Linked DNA regions of Homo sapiens: all the other regions are linked to region 4. Evidence: promoter capture Hi-C in human tissues and cell types (Jung and others, 2019). All regions are on one chromosome and are shown on one strand. Each heading gives the region's core, a stretch centred on a gene start or on the middle of the fragment in contact. The rest is flanking DNA. Distances are from core to core; before and after follow the strand shown. Region 1 overlaps HDLBP (high density lipoprotein binding protein). Region 2 overlaps SEPTIN2 (septin 2). Region 3 overlaps SEPTIN2 (septin 2). Region 4 holds the start of BOK (BCL2 family apoptosis regulator BOK). Region 5 overlaps FARP2 (FERM, ARH/RhoGEF and pleckstrin domain protein 2).

Region 1 (4,202 bases), core at 1,232-3,731, 250 kb before region 4:
GTTGCCCTGGCTGGAGTGCAATGGCGTGATCTCGGCTCACTGCAACCTCTGCCTCCCAGGTTCAGGCAATTCTCCTGCCTCAGCCTCCCACAGCTGGGATTACAGGCATGAGCCACCACGCCCGGCTAGTTTTGTATTTTTAGTAGAGACGGGGCTTCTCCATGTTGGTCAGGCCAGTCTCGAACTCCTGACCTCAGGTGATCTGCCCGCCTCAGCCTCCCAAAGTGCTGGGACTACAGGCGTGAGCCACTGCGCCTGGCCTCAGCTTTCTTATTTTTAAAAGAAAGGAGCTGAAATCCTACAGGTCAAAAAGTACCCCAAGTCAGGCTGGGAGCAGTGGCTCATGCCTATTATCACAGCACTTCATTGGGAGGCCGAGGCTGGCAGATCATTTGAGGTCAGGAATTCGAGACCAGCCTGGCCAACACGGCAAAACCCTATCTCTACTATTGTGCATGCCTGTAGTCCCAGCTACTCAGGAGGCTGAGGCAGGAGAATTGCTTGAACCCGGGAGGCGGAAGTTGCAGTGAGCGGAGATCATGCTGTCATACTCCAGCCTGGGTGACAGGGAGAGACTCTGTCTCAATAAATTAAAAAAAAAAAAAAAAGTATCCCAAGTCCCCAAGTCATAAGGCTGATAAGAACAGGTCCAGGGAGTAGCTCTGAACCTATTCAAAAAAAAAAAAAAAACGAGGAAAAGCCCAAAATTGAAGTGAGGTCTCCTGACTCCCAGTACAGTCAAAGACACCATCCTTTCATTTTTGTTTCTTTTTTGGGGGGCGGGGGGGACAGGGGGGCAGTGTCATCCTAACCTGGATAAACATCTCAACTCTTTGTTGAGTCAGGGAGAAATAATCAATATCCTGCCTTCTGTACCTAAGACAGCAAGTACTGCTGCAGGTCTCACAAGGTCTACCTCAAGAACTTCTGAGACTACAACAGAGGGAAAAGGCAAGCCCTAGAGTGGATCTGAAAAACGCTTATTTGAAAGAATTCATCGAGACTGCTCACGCCACTTGCTGACTGTTGACTTTGACATCAGCCACTTCTTACCTCTTCCTGCCCCAGGAGAGACCTGCGGTCATAGCACTGGGGTCTCTGGGATACAGCTAAGCCTCCTGAGAGACTGGAATGGGATGGGTAGGGGCTACACGAATAATGGTTTAATTAACATTGACAGTATTAATAGATTAATACTGCAGTGGGCTTGCTGTAGTGATGGTCTACCAAGGAACTTGATTTTTTAGCTTTAAAAATATTCTAAAAGATAACTCAACAAAACAATGTAAAAACTGGCAACCCCCCCATGAGGCTTTACCAAAAAATATATTCTAAACTGTATCTTCAAAACTGTAATTTTAATTATACTTTAATTATAATTTTAATACATGATTTAAATAAAAATAGGATCTTACATGCATTCTTTCACCATCTGCTACACTTATTTTCATTTGAAAAGACACCATGGCCATCTTTCCGAGTACCAAATACAAATTTACCTCATTTGTTAACAACTACATGTTGAGTGGAGTAAACATACCTTAATAAATCCCCTACTGATAGGACCCTTGAACTAATTTTTTTTTTTTTTTGCGATTATAAACAATGCTGGAAAGAACATCCTCTGCTCACTTGGGCCTCTACCCCCACAGGATAAATTGAATTGGAAATGGAATTATATGATGACAGGCAATGCATTGATAGATATTGCCAAGGTAAAACTGCCCACCTCCCAAAGAGTTTAACTAGTTACACTCACAACACCTGATTACAGAATACCTGTCCTCTTCTCCTTTGAGGACAACTAAAATGATCATGTTTATTCTTTTTTCCAGCCTGATGTGCGGGAAATACGATTTTAATGGCAACTCTGATCATCAGTGAGACAGCAATCTTGTTGAGCTTATTGACCTTTTGAATTTCTGTACTGTGAAGATCAAACTAATCACAACCAATCCGTCGTCCACCTTTCTACCAGTGTTTCAGCAACGCTTGTGAGACAAAGCAAAATCCACATCTGGGCAACAGAGCAGTAGGAATGAACAGAAAGAATTATAAATTTAAGTGAAACTCAAGTTGTATGCCAAAAATAACATTCCTAAAGGGCACCCAGGCAAAAGTGATGAGAAAATACTATTAAAAAGGACATCTTTTGCCTCAATTAGTCACACAGTAGACAACGTAAGCTGATGACCTGAGACACCTCAGCCTGCCAAAGTTCCGTTTCATTCACAAACATTAACCTACTCTGCTTTAAGAGAAGGGCTCCCCCAAAAGGTAATTGTGCTTGCAGAAAAGCGTCAAAGTGTATACTGTTTTGCGGGGTATGCAGACCTGGGTAGATGGTAGACTGAGGCTGACTGACAAGGCCAGGTTAGGGAAGCAGTGAAGTAGCTGAAGGCACAAACTGGAGCCAAACCACTAACTCTAGCCTTTGCCTCAGGGTCTACCTCGACCTGTGATAACAACAATACTTGCCTCCTACAGGTGACAGGAAAAGTAAGAAATGTCGTGAATGGTGTGGCCCATGGTCACTTCACCACGATCCACCACCAGTACTGGGTCACTCTGCTCCAGCTCTCCAAAGGCATCAAGATCCGACTGCTAGGAGCCCCGGCTTCTTCCCTGACCTGCCCGTCTCCTACACCCTCTGGTCCTGCTCCACACTGGTCTAATAACTGGTGTTCCACATTCCTCTAACGTGCACAACACAGTCCTGCCCCCGTGCTTTTCACCTCCTGTCCATTCCTCTTATAACGCTCTTCCCCAGATCGCTGCCCATGGCTTGTTTGCTCATCTCAAGTTTGAATCAACTGTCGCTCAATCAGCAAGGCCTCCCCACTATGCCAAACTGCCACTGTGTCCCCCACTCCACTCCCCTCGATACTTTATTTTCCTCCTTTCTTCTTGTCCACATTGGACATACTGCATATCTGCTGGTCTGCTGACTGCCTGACACCGCTTACCAAAACGTGACCTCCGTGAAAGTGCAGGAGAACACACTTGCATTTTCCTTACTGTGTCCCACTTCCTGGAACAGTGTCTCCAGCACGAGCCGTTGTCAGATCAATACATTTACACTACTTCGTGAAGCACCACTAAAATGATAGTAAACGATTTTTTCTTTTTTTAAGATACAAATCACGAAAGCAAAGAATAAGAATAGAGATAAGAACATTAAAATACTGGAGGCTAGAAACTGGAAACAGACCTAAAAGGGCTGAATCCTGTATCGGCAATGGGGAAGGCCAACTGGCAATATGACTGGAAGCCAGGAGACCTGAATTAAAAACAGAGTTGGCTGATAGGTTTAAAAGGCACGAAGATCCCTAAGATGCACCCCACAACTCTGCACAGCCACACAGAGCCAACCTGCACAGTCCCTCTCCTATCCTGGCAAAAAGGTATCGCTTTTCTGTCTGCAAAGGGAAGTAGAATCTTTGGACTGGGGACACCAGTTACAGAGGAGGGAAACAATTCTGAAAAGAGGGAAGTAAGCTCTTTTATGGTTACTGCTGTGCTCCCAGGCCTCTCTCCTCACTTGGCCACTCAGCCAGGCAAAGGGCTACAAGATATTTCTCTGGGGAATCTGAAGAAACCCAAAGAAGCTGACAAGGGTGCTGTAAGGAAATGGCCCAGCCAGGTGCCTCTGCAGTGAAAGCCACAGTCAGCCACAGACACAGGCTCAGAGGCCCTCTGACTCACGAGCAGGCACAAGAACATCACTGCATAGCCCAGAAAAGGCTGACAAAAGCCAAAAACCCACAACAAACCAGAGCAGCCTCAATAGTGACTTAAGGAAAAAGAAAACAGGGAAAAATAAAACCTCATCAATATCTTCCAACAGTTAACAGGAGATACCACATTCATGAAACAAAAAATAGGTTATAAAATAGGAATAGAGGGAACAAGAAAAAGCTCTTAGAAATGAGAAAAACCTTGGTAGAAGGGCTGGAAGACAAACTTGAGAATAACTTCCAGAAAGAAAATGAAAAACCAAAGGGTACAAAACATCAATTAGACAGGAGGAATGTGGTTTTCTTTTATGAGATATATTGTACAGCACGGTGAATATAGTAAATAATAATGTCGATTTCAAAAGTGCTGACAGTAATCTCATATGCTTTCACCACAAAAAACTTAAAGTATTTGAAGTGATGAATTATGTTAACTTGATTTTATTATTTATTGTATCCATAAAT
Region 2 (4,027 bases), core at 1,176-3,675, 220 kb before region 4:
GTTTTTTGGCTTCTCCTGACCCCTGACCCCAGGTCCTGAGATCAGGAATCTGCTTTGTTCACTTATGTATTCCCAGAGTTCCGAATAATGTCTGGCACATAATAGATTTGTTGCATAATTGTTGTAATGAACACTGGTGTACATCTATCTTTTCACAATTGTGTGAGCCAAACGAATTCTTAGGAAATAAGTATACATTTAAATTTTTGAAGGATGACTAAATTTGCTCTAAAGTAAGTTTGTAACAATTTACATTTCCAAAGTGTACTCTTCTCTCCACCCCCTAAAACTGTCCTGGTTATGTTGCCAGTTTTTGTAATGTGTTTCCTGTCTGAGAAATTGTATCTCATTTGAATTTGCCTTTCCTTGATTGCCGATGTGAGTATCTGTGCTGGTGTTGATGCCGGTTGGTGTATTCTCTCAGGTTGCAGGGACTTGGCTCTTGCTTTTTTATTGACTTAACACATATACTTATTTTTAGATGTTGACTATCACGTTGCAGATGATTTCACCTGGTTTGACTTTCATTTTTTCACATTTTTCTTGGTGCTTTTTTCCAAAGCAATTTTTAAGCAGCATGTAGTCATGTTTGGCAGCCTTTTCCTAAATTGTCTCAAGTGCCTGCCAGTTTTTTAGAAAGTATTTGAACCTTTGAAGAACCCCTGGAAGCGTAGACGTTTTTATGCTAATAAATACTTTAGTAATTCCTACTTAAGGGAACTTCACCTTTTGTACTCTGCTATATTAAATTTCTTTGAGGTAGAAATGGGGGTGGTGTCAGGGTTAGAATGCTGTAATTCTAATCTCTAATCCTGTATGCGAAACATTTAGTGCTGGATTACAACATCTGAGATGAATCGAAATACTTCGAGCTTTTATCCCTTCCTTCTTGGGCCTCATTAATCACTTCTCTTCCTCCAGTTTCTCCTTGATGCCTACCAGTTTGTTCATTCTGCCCTATCTACAAGAACCTCTTGCCTCCTGCCAGCCTCTACTAGCTTCTTGCCTTCACCAGCCTTTCTTCTAGTCAGACACTTACTGGTAGCTGTTATCTGCCCTCCCCATGATCCTGTTCACTCAGGCTTCCTGTCATCCACCTGCAATTGCTCTCTCATGGGCTTGGCCAACAGTTCAGTTCTCAGATGTGGGCCCCACCTGTGGGGTTTGTGTGATTGGCAATTCTACTTCTGAAACTTCCCTTCCTTGGCTGCTGAACCACTGTGTTTGCTTTTCTATCTGCTGTTTTTTACCACCTTCCTTCCTGATCCCTGAAGGTCAGTATTCCTTAGTATTATTTTGATCACATTATTTCTGTGGCTTCTGATTTGCCCTTCCAGGTATCTTATTTCTTGTTGTGAACCACATTTACCCACAGGAGTCCTCTTTTGACCACTGATGGACTCCTGTCCTTCCAGCTCCCCTGTCTCTTTAAATGGTCCCACAATTCTTGAAATCATCCAGACTGAGAAATGTGTAAATTATTTTTTACTCATCACTTCTGACTCCTCTGCTCACTTTTAAATAGCTTACTAACTGTTTCCGAACTCTTCTCTCCTCCAAAGTGTAAGCTCCATCTTTATGAGGCCAGCATAGGACAAAAGATGAGGTTAGCATGGATGGATAGTAGACCAGGAAAGGGGCCGTAAGATGAGGACAGGTGAGCAAGTTCATGCTTCTTATTGCTCAGTTTCTCCCAGAGATAAGATGGTTCCTCCCATTTAGGAATAAGGATTTATGAAAAGACTGAAGGTCGAGTTACAGAGTAAAGGATGTAGAGAGGAGGGCCTTTTCTGGAGTTCTGAATTAGTGCAGACATTGTACTAAGACCAAATCTCTGACCATTCAAGGCCCTTTTTAGGTCACATTAAGGCTTTCCATTCTTAAAAACCAGAAAGCAAATCCAGTGCACAGTTTGAGGTCGGGATATTTTCTGCTCACGTTGCTCTTGTTCTCTCTTCCCTGAATGGCTCAGGTACTGAGGTGAGACCAAACAAAACTGTGGCCTGCCTGGTGCCTGTGAGAATGCCCACCATGCAATGAGCATTTGAGTGCTAGGGTTTTAATTGATTGACTGATGAATGCATTCGTATTTCAACTTCAGCCCAGTTCTTTCTCCCCTCAAGCCCCATCCCCCACACTACTGCCTGCTTGATAGGTCCGATTGTGGGATTTCACTGCTGACTGCTGGCTGCCTGTTGAATGAAATACAGATCCCCAGGTCGCTAGCCTGGTGTTGATGGAACTCTCCACTTTGTAATTCCAATTTTTGTTTCCTTATCCAACTGGATGTCTTAGATTCCAACCTTTTGAATTTCTTATTCTCAAAATGCACCCCATGTGTCCTCTCTGTGCCTTTGACGAGGTTTTGTTTTTTTTTCTTTCTTTCTTCCTTTTTTTCCATCTGGGGTACTTCTCCCTTCTCTCTGCTTTTAAGACTCCTGCCTGTTCTCCAGGGTCTTCTCATGCCTGTAGCTTCTCTGTGGCAATTACCCTTCTTGAGGCTGATTGTGGTGTGATTTCCATTTTAGCTGTTGTGCTGGGGCTATCGTTAGTCTTCCTGCTGCTTTGTACATTGAGGGTAGTGGTGCATTATTGCTAATGTTATTTTTATTCTGTACAGAGGATCCTCAAAATTCAAGTATAAATACCTTTCTAGCAGTTTTGTAAATTTTTTTTTTTTTTTTTTTTTTTTGAGACGGAGTCTTGCTCCGTCACCCAGGCTGAAGTGCAGTGGTCTCAGCTCACTGCAAGCTCCGCCTCCCGGGTTCACGCCATTCTCCTGCCTCAGCCTCCCCAGCAGCTGGGACTACAGGCGTCCACTGCCACGCTTAGCTAATTTTTTTGTATTTTTAGTAGAGACAGGGTTTCACCATGTTAGCCAGGATGGTCTCCATCTCCTGACCTTGTGATCCACCTGCCTCGGCGTCCCAAAGTGCTGGGATTACAGACGTGAGCCACCACACCCGGCCGCAGTTTTATAAATTTATTTGACAGTAACTTTCGTCATCAGTTTGATTATTGACATTTGTATGATTTCCAATATATTTCTTACAAGATGAGCTAGAATTGGCTACAATAACATACGCAGTTTGCTAAAATTGATCCTGGTTTTGTCATTCTCTCAGATTCTGGATGAAATTGAAGAACATAACATCAAAATCTATCACTTACCTGATGCAGAATCAGATGAAGATGAAGATTTTAAAGAGCAGACTAGACTTCTCAAGGTAAGAACTGGCTTCAGATCCACAACATAAATAACTCCTGTTTACTGTTGTCCATGTTGAGGTGAGAGAGATTGCCTGGGTATGTTCAGTTACGAGAGTATTTTTGCTTTCAATATATTTTAAGACCTCATGCAGTGGCTCATGCCTATAATCCCAGCACTTTGAGAGGCCAAGGCAGATGGATCAGTTGAGGCCAGGAGTTCCAGACCATCCTGGCCAACATGGTGAAATCTCATCTCCATCAAAAATACAAAAATTAGGTGGATGTGGTGGTGCACACCTGTAGTCCCAGCCACTCGGGAGGCTAAGGCAGGAGAATCACTTGAACCCAGGAGGCAGAGGTTGCAGTGAGCCGAGATCGCGCCTCTGCACTCTAGCCTGGCGACAGAGCAAGACTCTGTCTCAAAAAAAAAAAAAATTTGATACAGCTATCACCTAAAGCTTAGAAATTTTATTGTAGGTTTAATTTGTTTTCGTACAATTTGTCCCATGTAGAAAGTATCTGACACTTTTCAAGAAAATGTTACATACCCCCAGCTTTCCAATTCAGTTTTGTAGTCAACAGCAATGTGTTAAGTCTGTGCTAATGTTCTCGTGTTGCCAGTGAACTCTGGGGTTCCCTGTGTGGAGCCTGTCTACTCTGTGTGTCTCTTTCTAGGCTAGCATCCCATTCTCTGTGGTTGGATCCAATCAGTTGATTGAAGCCAAAGGAAAGAAGGTCAGAGGCCGCCTCTACCCCTGGGGTGTTGTGGAAGTGGAGAACCCAGAGCACAATGACTTTCTGAAGCTGAGAACCATGC
Region 3 (4,617 bases), core at 2,015-4,514, 230 kb before region 4:
TTGAATTTTGTCCCCATTGTCTTGATTTAGGATTACTTCTGATTTTGTTTCTTCTTGTTCCTTTTCCATATTTTTGCTGGTTTGATGAAGTTGCTGTTTCCTCCATATTTTTCTCTTAATTTGGAAGTTCTCATTGTTATTTTCTTTAATGATTACCTTTTTTTTTACTTTCATAATCAGATACTTATCTCTGTATTATTTGAAAACGAGATGCCAACTCCTTCTGCCAAAACTGTCTGTATTACATCTGACCCTTCTCTTTCCCTTTAGGAAGTTCTACTCCTCCACACTCACACTTGCTCTCAATTCTTAGGTTTTGCTGAAATTAAAGGCTCTTGAACCTTACTGCTACTATCCCTTGGTTAACCAAGCCAAATAACACTGGGGATGCAGGGATCTCATTTCTTCCAAAGTAGCTGGGAACATTTCCAGTCAAAAGGGAAACAGAGGACACAGTATTCAGGAAGTTAAGATTTGGGGGAGGGGAATCGAGAGGCAAAGTGAGAGAAGCTTTTTAATAAGTTTCTAAGCTCCAGAGGGAACCAAATTTGACAGCAGTCATCTTTCTTGGGGTTGTTACTGAAGGTTAGCCAACAGACTCCATGCTTTCCAAAGCTTCAGGGTTTCTAAAATTTGTTTAAAAATTCCACATATCTCTGGCTGGGCACAGTGGCTCACACCTGTAATCCCAGCACCTTGGGAGGCTGAGGCGGGCGGGTCATGAGGTCAGGAGATCGAGACCATCCTGGCTAACACAGTGAAACCCCATCTCTACTAAAAATTAAAAAAAAATTAGCCGGGCATGGTGGCGGGCGCCTGTAGTCCCAGCTACTCGGGAGGCTGAGGCAGGAGAAGGGCGTGAACCCAGGAGGTGGAGGTTGCAGTGAGCTGAGATCACCCACTGTACTTCAGCCCGGGAGACAATGCGAGACTCCGTCTCAAAAAAAAAAAAAGAAAAGAGAAAAAAAAATTCCACATATCTTTAAAAATATTGTCACATTTTTCAGACACTCAGATGCCTTCAGTACTATTTCCTTTCCTCATAAATGTAGTTCACATTGCTCTCTGTACCCCAGTGTCAAAATCTAGTTCTCAGGTAGCTCTAGGAAACTCCAGTGGGTGGCAAACATGTTCAAGTTACAGTGCTCTATGTAATGAAGTCCCTTACTCCTTGAAAGGTTTCAAAGAGAGAGGGGAAATGACATAATTCCAGAGGTCAGGGAAGTATGTATCCGTGTGTATCCCATTTGTGTCCCTAGTGTCTAACATATAGTCAGTACTGAAAAAAAATTTGAATATTATTGAAAATATGGAATATGTGCGTACATATATATATACAGTTGCTTTTATCAACTTAAAAATTTTTTTAATTTTTTAATTTTTTGTAGAGATAGGGTTTTGCTATGTTGCCCAGATTGGTGTTGAATTTTTGGCTTCAAGCAGTCCTGCCTCTGCTTCCCAAACTGCTGGGATTACAGGCGTCAGCCACTGCACCCAGCCACCATCTAATTTTTTTTTTTTTTTTAATGGAGTCTCACTCTGTTGCCCAGGTTGGAGTGCAGTGGCATGATCTCGGCTCACTGCAACCTCCGCCTCCCAGGTTCAAGCGATTCTCCTGTCTCAGCCTTCTGAGTAGCTGGGATCACAGGCACGCACCACCACGCCTGGCTGAATCAGTATTTTTAGTAGAGACGGGGTTTCACCATGTTGGCCAGGCTGGTCTTGAACTCCTGACCTCAAGCGCCACCATGCCTGGCTGAATCAGTATTTTTAGTAGAGATGGGGTTTCACCATGTTGGCCAGGCTGGTCTTGAACTCCTGACCTCAAGTGGTCTGCCTACCTCGGCCTCCCAAAGTGCTGGAATTACAGGCGTGAGCATCACGTCTGGCCTAATTTTTTTAATCGAATTTATTTTTGTAATGATAGATGCTTGTCTTATTCCTAGGGAAATATTTGAAGTAATTGAGATGCTGTCACCTAAAATAATCAAAAGGCTCCTGATTCAGTTAAAAGAATTCATTTAAGTACAGAGTGTAAGCGAGCTACACCAAAGAATGGTGATTAGCGCTCCCAGGGTGGGGAAAAATGAGGATTGTTTATATAGGCAAAATGGAGGTGCCAAACAGAATTATAACATTTTCGGAACTAAGGCTCATTTAAAGATACAAATTTGATTGGCTACTATTGATTACACTTGAAGGGATTTGTTTAACTTCCTTTTGTAAAGAAGTAACAGTCATAAGGATCTCTCATCTCCCAGTCATTTAGTCTAGTTTTGAATAAAGAATAGGGGGTCTGGTTAATATATACATCTAAACACAAAAGTCAGAAAGAATAAAAGTAGTGATGTTACACGAGCCAGCTGTCAGTGCTTAACTTTTCCCTTTGGCCTAATGCATTTGGAAGGTCCTGAAATTGTATTTTCTTTTTACATTGCCTATGTATGTGTAAGTCTTCTTCAGGTCAGTTCACGCTGTTAAATATACGTGCGTATACATACATACTATGTATGTGCGTTTATGTGTGTCTGTGTGTTTTTTTTTTAACAGACGAAGCTTCACAAAAGATGTCTAAGGTAAGATCATACTTCATGTATCTACAGCATAAGGAGAAATTGCTTTATGTTTTCAGACTGTTGACAGTCGGGACTTATATGATTCATTATTTTTAATACAACTGATACATTTGATTCATTAACACAAAGAGTTCTAATTTAGTTGTCTTTTTTTTTTTTTTTTTGAGACGGGAGTCTTGTTCTGTCACCAGGCTGGAGTGCAGTGGCATGATCTCAGCTCACTGCAACTTCTGCCTCCCACGTTCAAGCGATTCCCCTGGCTCAGCCTCCGGAGTAGCTGGGACTGCAGACACGTGCCACCACGCTGGCTAATTTTTTGGATTTTAGTAAATTCGGGGTTTCACCGTGTTGGCCAGGATGGCCTTGATCTGTTGACCTCGTGATCCACCCGCTTTGGCCCCCCGAAGTGTTGGGATTACAGGTGTGAGCCACCGTGCCTGGCCTAATTGTCATCTTAAAAGCTTGGAGCTTTCTCTTTTTTCAGGCTTCTACTTTCTTTTCTCTACACACATCAGTAACAGTCCTTTTGGCCCCCTTAGTTCATTCCCAGCAGACCAGATAATTTAGAATTCTGATAATTTATTATGATGAAATTGATGGGGCTCTTAGACTTGATAAATTGGTTTAAATCAGCCTTTGCAAGTTAGTTCAGAGATAAATTAGTGCTAAAGAACATATTCTGAGAAAAGCAGAACTTGTGGTTAACATTGCAAGATTATTATTTCTGTTTTTTTTTTATCTTTGAATCCTGTGGGTGTTCATTACTGTCCAATGCAAAATCATCATACCAGTTTTTGCATTTTATACCAGTGTTAGCATGGAACACAGATAAGCAAAAAAAAAAGTCATTATTTCACCACTCAGGAATAACCACTGTTAATATGTTACATATATTCTTTTTCACCTGTGTGTGCATTTGACTATACATTTACAAAATGTAATCCTAAAGGAAATACTATTTTGTATCTTGCCTTTTTCAATTAATAAATTGATTTTTAAAATTTCTTCTCATTTTCAGTATGCCACTGTCTAGATTCTGGTTACTTCTGCTATTCTTGCCTTCTCATATCTCTGTCCTCTCTCTCATCAGATACCCTTCTGTCAAGGAATATTGATGCTTCAGTGTAGTCATCTATGATCTTCTCATTCTGTCTTTTCTTTCTTGGTCTTTGACACTAGATACTCAACATCCCACCCCTAATTTGCCTGCCTCACCCTTGATGAAACTCTGTTCTATAGAGCTAGAAGCACAGCAAGAGAGATGCTTTTTTCCTCGATACTTTTCAGAAATGCATTGCACCTAATACCTGGGAGAAGCTATTCTTTAGCCAAGTTTGTTGAATGAAACCATTCATTCAAAGTACTGTCAGCTGTAGCAGTACTTTGTAAGCTTGACTGATTTTCCTGGAACTCCATAGTCTCTCAAGTCGAAATTTGAAATTGCATTAAGATGTATTAAGCATGTATCTTCTATGTATTGTTAAATTCCTAAACAGAATACTGATTAACAAAATGTTAATTTTCAGTCGCATACAACTAAGGAGTTATACTAGATAAGTTTTTCTTTTTTTAATGCTCCTAGTTGAATACTACTGGTTTTCTGATAGAAGTATGACCTTCTGGAAGTGTTTATACTTTTTAAAAAATTTGTGAAAACTGATAACCTATGTTTGTTTCATGTCTAACTGATTATATCTTAAAAGCAACTACTAAGGTGTTTATTAGTTTGTTTGTTTTTTAATCTTATTTAGCAACAGCCAACTCAGTTTATAAATCCAGAAACACCTGGCTATGTTGGATTTGCAAACCTCCCCAATCAAGTTCACCGAAAATCAGTGAAAAAAGGTTTTGAGTTCACACTGATGGTGGTCGGTAAGAAATTAATCTATAGTCTCCAACTTACTAAATAAATATCTCCCCTTTCCAATCTCTGGAGTATGATAACGTGACCTATAAAGAAAGAGGAAAATTTGGCAGAGTCAAATAACTTGAGAATTTGAACAAATATATGTGTATTCATTAGAAAATTTTTCTCAGGAGC
Region 4 (4,403 bases), core at 1,646-4,145:
GAAGCAGGAAGTATGAGTTCATTCTGCACAGGAGGAAACTGAGCCTGTGAATGGGGCAGGAAGTTGCCTGAGGCTACACAGCGGGAAGGTTGCAGGTGTGAGCTTCCTGGTCTCCTGCCTGCAAGTACAGGCTCTTCCCCTGACAGAGGTACTTCAGGAACCATGGAGTTAGACCCCAAGGTTTACAGTCTGGCCATGCCCAGTCTTGCAGTGACTCCTTGGGCGAGATCTTTTCCCTCTCTGCATTTCTGTAATGCTATCTACAGGGAATCCCAAACCTGACTGCTCTTCAGAAATCTGAGGCGCACACTGTCCAAGGAGCTCTAGACTCTACATTAAAGAGTTCATTAAAATGCACCCTCAGATTTTACTGTACTACAGCTTTTCTGAAAAAGCAGCTAACAATGACTGAGCACTTACTACATGACATGGATTAAGAATTCAGTCCTCCCAGGCTGGGCGCTGTGGCTTACGCCTATAATCCCAGAACTTTGTGATGCCAAGGCAGGTAGATCACGAGGTCAAGAGATCGAGACCATCCTGGCCAACATGGTGAAACCCCCTCTCTACCAAAAATACAAACAATTAGCCGGGCGTGGTGTCAGGTGCCTGTAGTCCCAGCTACTCGGGAGGCTGAGGCAGGAGAATCGCTGGAGCCCAGGAGGCGGGGTTGCAGTGAGCCGAGTTTACGCCATTGCACTCCAGCCTGGCAACAGAGCGAGACTCCGTCTCAAAAAAAAAAAAAAAAAAAAAGAATTCAGTCCTCTCAACAATCCTAGGAGGTAGGTATTATTATTCTTCCTACTTCCCAGACAGGAAAGTCATAGCAGATAGAAGTTCCATAGCTTTCCTAGCTTCTGGTAATGTTCCTGACAGGTTTCGGTATTAAAATTACATTGACCTCATAAAATGAGTTGGGAAATACTCCCTCATTTTTAGTCTCTGTGCAGGTTTGTATGAGACTGGTGGTATTTTTTTAACTGTTGAGAAGAATTTCTCAATGAAACCATCTGAACCTAGAATTTTCTTTGTGGGAAGATTTTAAATTACAGATTCAATGCATTTAATTGGTGTAGGACTATCCAGATTTTCTATTTCTTTTAGTGTCAGTTTTGGTAAGTTGTGTATCATCTAAAATTTCAAATGCACTGTCAAAAAGTCCTCCATACTATCTTTTTATCCCTTTAATGCTTGTAGTATCTACAGTGATGTCCTCTTTTTCATTCTTGATAGTGAAATTTGTGTTATCTTTTTTCTTACTCAATCTTTCTGGGGATTTATCAGTTCTATTAATCTCTTCAAAGAACCAATTTTTGGCTTTGTTGATTTTCTCTATTTTTTGCTTTATTCCATTAATTTCTGCTCTTATTTTTATTATTTCCTTTCATCTTTAGTTTTATTGTTCTTTTCTAGCTTCTTGAGTGGAAGCTTAGAGCAGTAATTTTATTTTTCTTTTTCCTTTTTTTTTTTTTTTTTTGAGATGGAATCACACTCTGTTGTCCAGGCTGGAGTGCAGGTGGGATGATCTCTGCTCACTGCAACCTTCGCCTCCCAGGTTCAAGCAATTCTCCTGCCTCAGCCTCCTTAGTAGCTGGGATTACAGACACCTGCCACCACACCCAACTCATTTTTTGTATCTCTAGTAGAGACGGGGTTTTCACCATTTTGACCCGGCTGGTCTCAAACTCCTGAGCTCAGGTGATCTGCCCACCTAGGCCTCCCAAAATGCTGGGATTACAGGTCTGAGTCATTTCACCTGGCCTAATTTTCAATCCTTCTTCTAAAGCTATCAAATTTCCTCTAAGCAGTGTTTTAGTTGCACTGTACAGCATTTGATATGTCTTATTTTTCACTGTTCTTGTCAACATATTTTAATCTTCCACTGTGATTATTGACCCATTGATTATTTAGAAGTGTGACATGTAATTTCCAAGCATTTGCAGATTTTCCAGTAATTTTTCTGTTATTGACTTTTAATTCAGAGAGGACACACTGTAAGATTTCAATCCGTTGAGATTTGCTGAGACTTGTATAAGGTCCATGATATGGTCTATTTCGATAAACATCCTATGTGCACATGGGAAGAATAAGTATTTTATAGTGTTGTACACACGTGAATTAGGCCAAGTTGGTTAATCCTATTGTTCAAACTGTGTGAGGTTGATTCAAGGATAAAGAAATAAACCAGTGGGATAGAGTTCCGAGACACACACACACACACACACACACTCTTCAGCTGATTTATGTTGAGATGTTGGGGACTCCTCCAATTCGGTGGAAAAAAAATGATGCTTTTCAATAAATGATGCCAGGTCAATTGGATATCTACACGAAAAAAAATGAGCTCTAGCCCCGTACCACACCATTCACAATAATTAATATGTAATCAATCATAGATCTAAATATGAGCCCTAAAACAAGCTTCTAAAAGGAAATACAGGAGGATATCCCAATAAAAAGGTACTAACCATAAAGAAAATATTGATAAATTGGACATCACTAAGAGTAACTCCTGTTCATCCAAAGCAAAAGTAAACCACAAAATAGAGGAAGATATTTGCAATAACTTCAATAAATGCGAATCCAATAATCCATCTACAATACAAAGGGCATGCGTCCGGACCAAGAACACGTCTCCAGACTCTGGAAAGAACCTCTACGAACGAAGAAGACAACCCAATTTTCAAATGGACCCCGGGGAACACCCAGGCGGCTGGGGCTGGCTCTAGGTCCCCACTGCTCTGCCTTGCGGGGGCCGCTCCGGCCTGGTCGCCTTCTCCGGGCGCATCCAGGGAACTCGCTCGGTCCTCCTTAAGCGGGGAAGCTCGGAAAGCGTCTCCCCGACTCCGCCCCCAGGGTTGCCTTTCCCTTAGAAGGCCAAGCCCCAAGCCCAGCCTCTCGCCAGCTGGGAGTCGCGCGCTGCCCACCTCGCTGCCCAGGCCCCCGACGCCGCGGCAGGAGCCCCCCAAGAGCGCGGGAAGCCCCGTGGACCTGGCGCTCCCGGCTCGGGCGTGGACGGGGCGGGCGCCGGGGCGGGGCGCGCGTCCTCGCGGGTCTGAATGGAAGGGTCGAGGTCGTCGTCGGCGGCGAGCAGATCCTGAAGCCAGAACTCCACCCCGGCGCCCGCGCCATGCGGCGGGAGAGGTGAGCGCGGCGGGCGTGGCGTCCGTGCCGGGGTGCCCGGGGTGCCACGGGAACGGCGAGGCCGGGGACACGCGCGCAGGACGCCAGCGGCGGAGGTGGGCGGCCCCGGGCCGGGGCGGGGAGGGCCGGGTCCTGGCAGTCGCCGTGGGGGACGCGCTGGGCTGTGCCCTCCGCCCCCGCCGCCCACGCACTCGTCTTCGAGGGCGGGCCCGGCGGCCCCGGAGCAAACCGCCGTCTCCCCGCGGCCCCACCGGTCCCTGGCAGCCTCGGGGAATGTCTGTAGCTGAATTCGGGCTCTGAAAGAAGGTGGCGCTGGGTTTTTAAAGATTTGGGGCACAAAAAACGAGAGCGGACCCGGCGCCGGCTACGGCCCTTCCCGAGGGCCACGCCCAGCCCGGCGCCCCGCGCGCCCCGTTCCCCGCGCCGCCTCCCTCCACCCGGCTGAGCGCTTGTGCCCGCAGGTGCGGCGCCCCCCACCCGCGTCGCCGCCATGGAGGTGCTGCGGCGCTCCTCGGTCTTCGCCGCCGAGATCATGGACGCCTTTGACCGCTCGCCCACAGACAAGGAGCTGGTGGCCCAGGCCAAGGCGCTGGGCCGGGAGTACGTGCACGCGCGGCTGCTGCGCGCCGGCCTCTCCTGGAGCGCGCCCGAGCGTGCCGCGCCGGTCCCGGGACGCCTGGCTGAGGTGTGCGCGGTGCTGCTGCGCCTGGGTGAGTGCGCCCTGGTGGGATCCCCAGCTGCGCCTCCTCCCCTGCTGGGCCGCAGCCTCCCTCCGAGGCCGAGATGGGGGTCCGGCCCAGGGGCGCCCACCCCCTGCCTGGGACGGCCAGGCGCTCGGGACAGGGCCACCCAGGCGGGTGCTCCCGGATCTGCCCTCTCAGGCCTCCCACGCCACAGGCCCCCCCATCAGCTGCCTGCTCAGCCCAGATTTCAGTCATGCTGGCCATAAACAATAGAAAGCTCCAGAAAGAATAATCTATTAGTGGGTGGCTAAGCTTCCACAGTGACCCTTGTTCTCAGCTGGGCACAGAAACCCTTTGTAGGAGCACGTGTCCCGATGTTTATTTTGGAAAACAGATTCTTGCTGTTACTGGCCGAGATCCCGCCCGCTGCCCTCTGGATTCCGAGGCCTCCGAGGCCCCCCCATTGGAAACTGCGCCCACCGGGCTGGGTAGCCAAAACCTCAGTATTCGTTGGTGCTGTGAGGACATCTGGGGGTGCTCGGTTCTGGGGTCACACACGGTCCACTGGCTGCCCCC
Region 5 (4,385 bases), core at 1,496-3,995, 130 kb before region 4:
GCCGGTTTTGAGAGAAACATAACCTACCTGATGTAGCTGAAAAACACAACACGAGAACCTCACATTGCAATCACAAGTATCAATAGCAGAATAGGCCAAGCAGAGGAAAGAATCTCAGAGCATTGAAGACTATCTTTCTGAAATAGGCAGACAAGAATAGAGAGAAAAGAATGAAAAGGAATGACAGAACCTCCAAGAAATATGGGATTATGTGAAGAGACCAAACCTATAACTGATTGGGTTACCCAAAAGAGACAGGGAGAATGGAATCAAGTTGGAAAACATACTTTGGGATATCATCCAGGAGAATTTCCCCAACCTAACGAGACAGGCTAATATTCAAATTCAGGAAATGCAGAGAACCCCAGTAAGATACTCCACAAGAAGATCTGCCCCAAGACATATAATCATCAGATTCTCCAAGGTTGAAATAAAAGAAAAAATATTAAAGGCAGCCAGAGAGAAAGGCCAGGTCATCTACAAAGGGAATCCCTTCAGACTAACAGGGGACCTCTCAGCAGAAACCCTACAAGCCAGAAGAGATTGGGGGCCAATATTCAACATTCTTAGGAAAAAATTTCCAACCCAGAATTTCATATCTGGCCAAACTAAACTTCATAAGCAAAACAGAAATAAGATTCTTTTCAGACAAGCAAGTGCTTAGGGAATTCATCACCACCAGGCCTGCTTTGCAAGAGCTCCTGAAGGAAGCACTAAATACAGAAAGGAAAAACTGTTAACAGCCACTGCAAAAACACACTGAAATACATAGACCAGTGACACTATAAAGCAACCACAAAAACAAGTCTGCAAAATAACCAGCTAGGACCATGATGACAGGATGAAATTCACATATAACAATATTAACCTTAAATGTAAATGGGCTAAATGCCCCCAATTAAAAGACACAGAATGGCAAGCTGGATAAAGAGCCAAGACCTATGGGTATGCTGTCTTCAAGAGACCTGTCTCACGTGCAAAGACACACATAGACTCAAAATGAAGGGATGGAATAAAATTTACCAAGCAAATGGAAAACAGAAAAAAACAAGGCTTGCAATCCTAGTTTCTGACAGAACAGACTTTAAAGCAACAAAGATTAAAAAAGACAAAGATGGGCATTATATAATGGTAAAGGGTTCAACAAGAAGAGCTAATTATCCTAAATATATATGCACCCAATACAGGAGCCCCCAGATTCATAAAGCAAGTTCTTAAAGATCTAAAAAACGACTTAGACTCCCACACAATAATAATAGGAGACTTTAACACCCCACTGACAATATTAGACAGATCATCAAGACAGAAAGTTAACTTTCTGAAAATATTCAGGACCTGAACTCAGCCCTGGATAAAGTGACCTTATAGATAGCTACAGAACTGTCCCCCCAAAAACAAAAGAATATAAATTCTTCTCATCACCACATGGCACTTTGTCTAAAACTGATCACATAATCGGAAGCAAAACACTCCTCAGCAAATGCATAAGAACTGAAATCATAACAAACAGTCTCTTACACCACAGCACAATCAAATTAGAACTCAAGATTTAAACATTCACTGAAAACCACACAACTATATGGAAATTGAACAACCTGCTCCTGAATGACTCTTGGGTAAATAATGAAATTAAGGTAGAAATCAAGAATTATTTGAAACTAATGAGAACTAAGAGATAACATATCAGAATCTGGGATGCAGCTAAAGCATTGTTAAGAGGGAAATTTATAGTACTAAATGCCCACATCAAAAAGCTAGAAAGATCTCAGGTTAACAACCTAACATCTCAACTAAAAGAACTAAAAAATCAAGAGCAAACAAACCTCAAAGCTAGCAGAAGACAAGAAATAGCCAAGATCAGAGCTGAACTGAAGAGATAGAGACACAAAAACCCCTTCAAAAAATCAAATCCAGGAGCTGGTTTTTTGAAAAAATTAATAAAATAGACTGCTAGCTAGACTAGTAAAGAAGATAATAGAGAATAATCAAATGAACAATCTGAAATGATAGGGGAATATCACCACTGAACCCACGGAAATATAAACGATCATCAGAGAATGCTATAAACACCTCTATGCACATAAAGTGGAAAATCTAAAAGAAACTGATAAATTCCTGGACACATACGCTCTCCCAAGACTGAACCAGAAAGAAACTTATAAAAACCCTAGATGAGGGCTAGACACAGTGGCTCACGTCTGAATCCCAGCACTTTCGGAGGCCAATGGGGGCAGATCACTTGATGTCAGGAGTTCAAGACCAGCCTGGGGCCAACATGGTAAAACCCTGTCTCTACTAATATAATAATTAGCCAGGCATGATAGTGGGTGCCTATAACCCCAGCTACTTGAGAGACTGAGGAAGGAGAACCGCTTGAGCCTGGGAGGCGGAGGTTGCAGTGAGCCAAAATCAAGCCACTATACTCCAGTCTGGGCGATGAAGTGCGACCCTGTCTCAAAAACAAAAACAAAAAAAACCCTGGAAGAAAATCTAGGCAATGCCATTCAGGACACAGGCACAGGAAGGATTTCATGACGAAAATGCCAAAAGCAATTGCAACAAAAGCAAAAATTGATAAATGAGATTTAATTAAACTGAAAAGCTTATGCACAGCAAAAGAAACTATCATCAGAGTGAACAGACAACCCTACAGAATGGGAGAAAAATTTTGCAGTCTATCCATCCAACAAAGGATAATAGTGGAGAAGACCCAAGAACTCCCAGGAAGAAGAGAGAAAGAAGTGTGATTTAAAATGGCCTGGAACTATTCCGTAGCAGTACTGGAAGCTAGAAAGCAACGGGGCTTTCCGAGCCAGGGGGAAATTGAATCCCTGAATAGACTAGAAATGTGTTGTGAAATTGAGGCAATAATATCCTACCAAGTAAAAAAAAAAAAAAAAAAAAAAAAAAAAGTAGCCCAGGACCAGATGGATTCACAGCTGAATTCAACCAGAGGTACAAAGAAGAGCTGGTACAATTTCTCTCTCTCTCTTTTTTTTTTTTTTTTTTTTGAGACAGAGTTTCATTCTTGTTGCCCAGGCTGGAGTGCAATGTCACTGCAATGGCAGCATCTCAAACATTAAAAGGAAATTATTTCCAAACTAATTCTTTTGTTTTTTTTTTTTTGAGACTACAGTTTTATTATTACTCAAATCAGTTTCCCCGAGCATTTGGCGATTTTTTTTTTAAATTTGGTGTGTGTGGGGCTCTAGACTAGAATTCTGTGCTCTGTTCCACATGACTTCTGTACAGAGAAAACCTTTTTTCACACATGTAGATTTTTAAAAAATTTAACTACTACTCTCCCTTTGTAAGGAAAAACTAGAGGAGAGAATGAACTAAAAGTGAGAAAGAAGGAAATAGGGTGCTCCACATCCGAGACAGGCAGAGGAAGACACAGGTTCTGCCTGCCAAGAGAGCATCCACCAATACCAGAGCAGAGGGCAGGGCCCCGGGAGAGAGGGTAGACCAGGGACTCATTTCTTTTGCTGGACGGTGTGGAAGAGTGTTAACTAGGGATAGGTACATGCCGGTGAAGCAAATGAAACGAGGCAATTAGGATTCTCAAGGAAATTTTGAAGAAGGAAGCTTTACTTTATAATATAAAAAAAGTAGTTAAATTCACTATAGCTCAGCTTGTGAGCAATGCTTACATGACCATTAATATAAATACTGAATTTAAAATTTACCAACAATTAGGAGAGTGTGGGGAGGGGTAGGTGTGAGGTATTGGCAGTGACAGATGTTGAGGAGGCAAGATTTCAAAGTGGAGAATGTGCTAGCTGTCATAAATGTGCTTTTCAGAAATACGGGTGAATGAATGGATGCATGAGAGTAAATCCCAGAAAGGCAGCCAAGAGAGGTGAAGCTGGTTCTGTCTGAGGAAGAGGACTTGATGTGGAGTGGGTGACCCTGACCTGGCAGTTTGTTTCCAGTCGTGTAGTCTATATGGCATTTTCAGATATGCCCTGGATTATTGGATGAATATGAAAATGAAAACAGTAGATTTTAGCATTCCACAGCTAACTGTGCAGGTTTAAAAGTGTTGTCTTAAAGTCTGTCAAGTCAGGGTGCAGTAGATGAAAGCTGTGATTGTCCTTGGATTTTCTATTTATTTCTCCTTTTATCATGGTGGTCAAGACCCTGGGATATACAGTTGGCCCTCCATATCCGCAGGAAAATAAACGATAAAAAACAATACAGGCTGGGCGCGGTGGCTCACACCTGTAATCCCAGAACTTTGGGAGGCCAAGGCTGGTAGATCACCTGAGGTCACAAGTTCGAGACCAGCCTGGCCAACATGGTGAAACCCCATCTCTACTAAAAATACAAAAATTAGCCAGGTGTGGTGGCAGGTGCCTGTAATGCCAGCTACTCAGGAGGCT

Evidence for each region. Contacts are between HindIII fragments. The study calls those that stand out against the background at their distance.
Region 1: a fragment that was not itself captured here is called in contact with the fragment with the promoter of BOK in region 4 in 2 of the 25 tissues and cell types used here (dorsolateral prefrontal cortex and lymphoblastoid cells).
Region 2: a contact is called between a fragment that was not itself captured here and the fragment with the promoter of BOK in region 4, in 2 of the 25 tissues and cell types used here (dorsolateral prefrontal cortex and hippocampus).
Region 3: a fragment that was not itself captured here is called in contact with the fragment with the promoter of BOK in region 4 in 1 of the 25 tissues and cell types used here (dorsolateral prefrontal cortex).
Region 5: a fragment that was not itself captured here is called in contact with the fragment with the promoter of BOK in region 4 in 3 of the 25 tissues and cell types used here (dorsolateral prefrontal cortex, hippocampus and lymphoblastoid cells).

What each region holds. Positions count from the first base shown.
Region 1 is chr2:241,306,298-241,310,499 of GRCh38, forward strand. All of the region lies in intron 1 of HDLBP (high density lipoprotein binding protein), which reads right to left. Among named protein-coding and RNA genes, the nearest start is that of HDLBP, 7.3 kb to the right of the region's middle. RefSeq lists an enhancer at 3,107-3,608. The HindIII fragment of the contact is 9,441 bases long and covers 1-4,202 here.
Region 2 is chr2:241,339,867-241,343,893 of GRCh38, forward strand. SEPTIN2 (septin 2) reads left to right here. Exons shown (of 13, transcript NM_004404.5): 8 at 3,126-3,227; 9 at 3,886-4,027. Among named protein-coding and RNA genes, the nearest start is that of FARP2, 14 kb to the right of the region's middle. The HindIII fragment of the contact is 6,582 bases long and covers 1-4,027 here.
Region 3 is chr2:241,321,666-241,326,282 of GRCh38, forward strand. SEPTIN2 (septin 2) reads left to right here. Exons shown (of 13, transcript NM_004404.5): 2 at 2,551-2,576; 3 at 4,328-4,448. The coding sequence starts at 2,568. Among named protein-coding and RNA genes, the nearest start is that of SEPTIN2, 8.0 kb to the left of the region's middle. The HindIII fragment of the contact is 3,359 bases long and covers 1,586-4,617 here.
Region 4 is chr2:241,555,850-241,560,252 of GRCh38, forward strand. BOK (BCL2 family apoptosis regulator BOK) reads left to right here and starts at 2,896. Exons shown (of 5, transcript NM_032515.5): 1 at 2,896-3,144; 2 at 3,606-3,854. The coding sequence starts at 3,635. It overlaps BOK-AS1 (BOK antisense RNA 1), which reads right to left and starts at 3,294. Exons shown (of 2, transcript NR_033346.1): 1 at 2,928-3,294. RefSeq lists silencers at 3,559-3,638, 3,669-3,738, 3,789-3,918. The HindIII fragment of the contact is 1,356 bases long and covers 1,925-3,280 here.
Region 5 is chr2:241,422,751-241,427,135 of GRCh38, forward strand. All of the region lies in intron 8 of FARP2 (FERM, ARH/RhoGEF and pleckstrin domain protein 2), which reads left to right. Among named protein-coding and RNA genes, the nearest start is that of MIR3133, 53 kb to the right of the region's middle. The HindIII fragment of the contact is 3,912 bases long and covers 790-4,385 here.